Regions from separate parts of the Homo sapiens genome. Here region 1 is linked to region 2. Evidence: promoter capture Hi-C in human tissues and cell types (Jung and others, 2019). All regions are on one chromosome and are shown on one strand. Each heading gives the region's core, a stretch centred on a gene start or on the middle of the fragment in contact. The rest is flanking DNA. Distances are from core to core; before and after follow the strand shown. Region 1 overlaps CTXND2 (cortexin domain containing 2). Region 2 holds the start of RPRD2 (regulation of nuclear pre-mRNA domain containing 2).

The links. Contacts are between HindIII fragments. The study calls those that stand out against the background at their distance.
Region 1: a contact is called between a fragment that was not itself captured here and the fragment with the promoter of RPRD2 in region 2, in 1 of the 25 tissues and cell types used here (small bowel).

The regions. Positions count from the first base shown.
Region 1 is chr1:150,901,831-150,904,530 of GRCh38, reverse strand. All of the region lies in intron 1 of CTXND2 (cortexin domain containing 2), which reads right to left. All of the region lies in intron 2 of LOC107985204 (a long non-coding RNA gene), which reads left to right. It also overlaps the pseudogene CYCSP51. Among named protein-coding and RNA genes, the nearest start is that of CTXND2, 16 kb to the right of the region's middle. The HindIII fragment of the contact is 5,221 bases long and covers 1-2,700 here.
Region 2 is chr1:150,362,758-150,365,457 of GRCh38, reverse strand. RPRD2 (regulation of nuclear pre-mRNA domain containing 2) reads right to left here and starts at 1,311. Exons shown (of 11, transcript NM_015203.5): 1 at 539-1,311. The coding sequence starts at 743. RefSeq lists enhancers at 1-40, 524-803, 1,554-1,863, 2,024-2,093, 2,074-2,700. The HindIII fragment of the contact is 19,991 bases long and covers 1-2,700 here.

The DNA.
Region 1 (2,700 bases), core at 10-2,509, 540 kb before region 2:
ACCAATCTCCAGTAAGTTTGAAGATGGTACTCACCATCTTTGTGAAAAGTTTAACATTACTAACAAAGTCTAATCATATCTTTAGAAGGGGTAAACAGTGATAGCATTTACTGAATTGGAATTACTATTAAAATTCAAAAACTGAACATATTCATTTAACCACAAGCCAGTCTTAGTTTTAAATCAGGACTGTCCGACAAAATATTCTGTCAGTCATTCATGATCTGAATTCTGGTGTATAAGCTCTGTTAAAGTATGGTACACATGAAAAATTCATGAGACATTTGTTTTGTAATAAATAAGGCAGTGGCCAATTATTACTCATTAGTAGCTTTTTTGAGATAAGCTGTCAAGTCGGCCTTTTCTGCCTTCTTTTTAATGCCGGCAAAGATCATTTTTGTTCCAGGGATGTACTTCTTGGGATTTTCCAAATACTCCATCAGCGTATCCTCTCCCCAGATGATGCCTTTGTTCTTATTGGCATCTGTGTAAGAGAATCCAACAGCCTGACCTGTCTTCTGACTGAAGAGACCATGGAGATTAGGCCCAGTCTTGTGCTTGCCTCCCTTTTCCACGGTGTGACACTGGGCACACTTCTGAACAAAAATCTTCTTGCCTTTCTCAACATCACCCATATTTAATTCTCTTTTTCATCACTGGTGCAACGTAGGTTACCACTCTGAAGCCGGACATCCCACTCTCTCCATAAAGGCAATTTTTTTTTTTTTTTGAGACGGAGTTTCACACTGTCGCTCAGGCTGGAGGGCAAAAATGGCGCAATCTCTGCTCACTGCAACCTCTGCCTCCCAGGTTCAAGCGATTCTCCTGCCTCAGCCTCCCGAGCAGCTGGGATTACAGGCGCCCACCACCATTCCAGCAAATTTTTTGTATTTTTAGTAGCGACGGGGTGTCACTATGTTGGCCAGGCTGGTCTTGAACTCCTGACCTCCTGATCCACCTGCCTCAGCCTCCCAAAGTGCTGGGATTACAGGCGTGAGCCACCATGTCTGGCCAGAAGGGTGATTTTTATTTTTAATTTTATTTTATTTTTTCATCTCATACTGGTATCTTTTAATTAAAAAAAAGTTAAAAATCAAAGAGAACGTCTGGCCAGGGCTAGGTTAAGACAGACAGGAACACTTCAGAATCCAAGGCAGGGAAAGGCTGTTGGCCTCTCTTAAGAGGACTGCAGGGGTGGGAAGCGGGAGGGACAAATCATGCACAAAAGTACTTATAATAAAATTATATACGCAACCCCCACCCCTCAATAAAAAGAGAAGAAAAAGCCCCATCACTTAACAGAAGGGTGATTTTTAATAAAATATGTTGTTGTTACAGAATGATCAGATTTTCAAAACAAAACATAGGGATTGGCAGAACAGACGCATCAGGTTATTAAAAGGAGACTATTTCTGTTTCAATTACAGCTGTGCTATAAATTTAGGCCAAAATAAAACAATAGATAGCAGGAGCCCTATGTTCCAAAGAGGGATCTGATAACCAGGCATTGCAGAGCAAGTAGCTAGACAATTTTTGAAATATTTAGTTCAGTATTCACCTTGAGGGGATAAAAAGGGTTGAGAGTAAAGAGGCAATAGGTTTTCTTGGGGAAAGTTGCTGGAATGTTGGTATTTTCCCTCTGTACTCTGTAGGAGAAAGGTGTACAGAGGGAAAATACCAAAGGTGACTACTTTCCCTTCAAGCTTGATATATGTTCCCTGCAGTTTATGGGACATAGTGGTCTGCTTTTTTGTCATTTTGTCTTGTTTATATTCCACTTTAAGAGTTTTTTCCCCTACTATTATTGCATTTATTTTTTGAGTATGTGAAATAGTAACATAGTTACCAGAACTATACAAAAATTACACTCAAAGAAGTATCACCCCTCCCCGACCATTCTTTCCATTCCATTTCACCCACATCTCATCCTTGCCACCCATTCCTACCTACCTCCTATAGGTGATGAATCTCATTCATTTCCGTCGGCCAGGCTGGAATGCAGTGGCACGATCTTGGTTTACTGCAACCTCTGTCTCCTGGGCTCAAGCAATTCTCCTGCCTTAGCCTCCCAAGTAGCTGAGATTACAGGCGTGTGCCACCATGCCCAGCAATTTTTTTTTTTTTTTGAGGCAGTCTCTCTCTGTTGCCCAGGCTTGAGTGCAGTGGCCCAATCTCAGCTCACTGCAAGCTCCGCCTCCCGGGTTCATGCCATTCTCCTGCTTCAGCCTCCCGAGTAGCTGGGACTACAGGCACCCACCACCACGCCTGGCTAATGTTTTTTAAAAATATTTTTAGTAGAGACGGGGTTTCACTGTGTTATCCAGGATGGTCTCAATATCCTGACCTTGTGATCTGCCCGCCTCTGCCCCCCAAAGTGCTGGGATTACAGGCGTGAGCCACGGCGCCCAGCCAAATTTTTGTATTTTTAGTAGAGACGGAGTTTCACCATGTTGGCCAGGCTAATCTTGAACTCCTGATCTCAGGTAATCCGCCTGCCTCGGCCTCCCAAAGTCCTGGGATTACAGGAGTGAGCCACTGTGCTCAGCCTCTAGCATTATTTATTAAAAAGACTATTATTTCCCCATTGAATTTATTTTTTTTTTTTTAGATGGAATCTCACTCTGTCGCCCAGGCTGGAGTGCTGGAGTGCAGTAGCACAATCTTGGCTCACTGCAAGCTCCACCTCCCAGGTTCACGCCA
Region 2 (2,700 bases), core at 62-2,561:
GATCTATGTAGAGCTCATGCTGCTTCTTAACATTCATCCAGGTAAGGCTCTCCTTACTACACATCACAAGTTTTAGATACATTCATCCAGACAAGGCACTCCTCATTAAACATCACTGGATTTACTACTGCTTAAAACCACAGCTCGCCTACCATCAGGAAAGCCAGAAATCATTAACACGTCAAGGCCTGTAAGAAATAAACAGACGCTACAATTTCCGCGAAGGTTCGGAAAAATCAATACACCTTACAAGGCTCTGAAATATTAAAAACAATATACGTAAATCTCCATGGATCTGGGCCCAACGGCCCAAGGTCACAACAATTCAATGGCTAAAAAACCCAAGAAATGAGTCTCCTGCAATTCAGGACAATCCTGGCTAGGAATGGAGTCTGGGTTTGGGACCACTGGGGTCAAACCTTTAATGTGAACAACCCCAACCAAATGCTGCGGCTCCGTGGGAAAACCCCAAGCGTTTCAGGCCACACTTCCTTCCATTTCCCCAGTCTTCCCTTCCCTAGTCACCCCCAACACTCACATCTCCGGAGCCACTTCATCCAATGATAGACGATAGTACTGTGGTGTTTTTTGTTCTCTATACACCAAGACGACAAGCCTTGAATGGACTCCATGGTGTTGGTTACCGACTGGAATTTTCGATCCAACGAGGACTCCAGAGCCCCTGCCGAAGAGGCCGACGAGGAGGAGGCCTTACTGCTGCCTCCGCCGCCGCCGGCCGCCATCTTCCCGGTTTGCACAAGCGCTGCTGCTCCTCTGGCGGCGGCGGCGGCGGCGGCGGCGGGAGCGGGCAAAACAATCACTGCGAGTGCGTGAAAGCCGTAGGTGGGGAGGGAAGCTAGGGGGTGGGGATGGTGCACGCGCTGGGCTCTTCTGGAGGTACGGACGGGAACACCAGCTGCTGGGCACGCTGGCAGCTCCTACACGCTGCAAGGAGGGGCTGCGGGTCTCGGAGGTTTTATCAATATTGTTCAAGGGGTCGTGTTTAAACCAGTCAGTAATCACGGAAAAATTACGCAGAAAACAGGACCTGCAAAGCCTTTCAAAACGCCTGACGCCGAAACTAATCGTTTTATACTTTTCGGCTCTCAGTGCTAAGGCCCTTCCCCGCCCCTGTTCCCACACTCCTGTGAGCCAGGTCGGGCGTTAATATCTTAAATGTAATACTACCCGACTGCCCCTTCAGTTGCAGAAATCTTTCTTTCCTTTAGACTCGCTAGCACAGAAAAGGTCCAAGGCTACCTAGTCAGGATTTTTTTTGCAACGCAATAGCAGCAAAGGGGCAGCAACAGTATCGCGCACGCGCCACTTGGCCCCACCCCCCTACCCCTGCTTCCTTCTCAACCTTGAAAGCAGAGGGAGGCGTGATGGCGGGGCAACCTGACCAATCAGGAGTGGAGAACCACAAGCGCGCGCAGGAGCTCTGAAGCCCCCAGGGCCCAGGAGGCGCTACGATTATTTTTGCGCCTGCGCAGAAGATAAGCGTGTAACGGGATGGAAGGAAAAACTGGGAGGGATGGGTGAGGGAGCTGGTATAACTAAGGTTAGCCGGGTGGGGGGGTTCCCCTGCCCCGCCCTTTGCTGCTTTTGGCCGCTCTCTTGGGTGTGTTCAGCTCACACAACAGAGACAGAAAATTCCCACCACTGAGACCACTGTTAGTCTTCAGGGGGCTGCAGCCATCGCCCCCAACTCCTCGGAGGAGCAACGCGCGACAAAATGGCTGGCAGCCATCTTGCGGCACCACAAAAGATGCGCATGCGCCAGATCCAGTGAGCCATTCACTACGCAGACTCCGACACCAAACCGTATTTATTGCTGCCCATAGAAGATAACATTCACAGCCGCTTGACCATTTAGGTTACAGGAAAAGGAAATAAATGAGGAAGTGAAAGGAAATTTTCCTCATAAAATTTTTCGAGGCGAAAAAAGAATGGCAAGATGTGACCTCATTTTCGCCAGCTATGATACAATCTTAAAATTGCATAATACATTACAGTTTTCAAGAGTCTTACGTAACTATTATATGAACCTTATACGAACCATTTTATCGCAGGTATCTATGTAAATCCTCTGAGCTAATTTAAAGGCTCCTGTGTTCCCACTAAACATATACAGTTTTAATTCTTTTAACGTCTCCTCACTGCGGCCATGCCTCTTGAGGCAGGGAACCTGTTTTGTCAAGTTCATGTCCACTATTCATTAATTCAACGAGTTGTTGAACCTCTTGTGCCAAGTACTGTTTTAGATCATGGGGAGCAAAACAGACAAAAATCCGTTCCCTCCGGGATTTAGTGGCAGGACACCACCAACAAGTACATTTCAGACAGTATTAAATTCTGTAAAAAGGTGAAGCAGGGTAAGGGAGAAAGGGGTGTGTGTGTGTGCGCGCGTGTGTGTACGTGTGCACGGCACGCACGCGCCAGTATAAGAATGGTGGTATGGTGAACCAGGAAGTCTTCTCGAAAGAAATAACTCGATCTGAACATTGAGAAAAAAGCAACCAAGCAGATATGCGAGACGGGGAGCGGAACATGCTGGCATTAGGAACAGCAAGTGCAAAGGCTCTAAAATACAGTCTCGCTCTGTCCCTGCCAAGGCTAGAGTGCAGTGGCACTATCATATCGCACAGCAGCCTCAATCCCCCAGACTCAAGTGGTCCTCCTGCCTCAGCAGCACAAGTA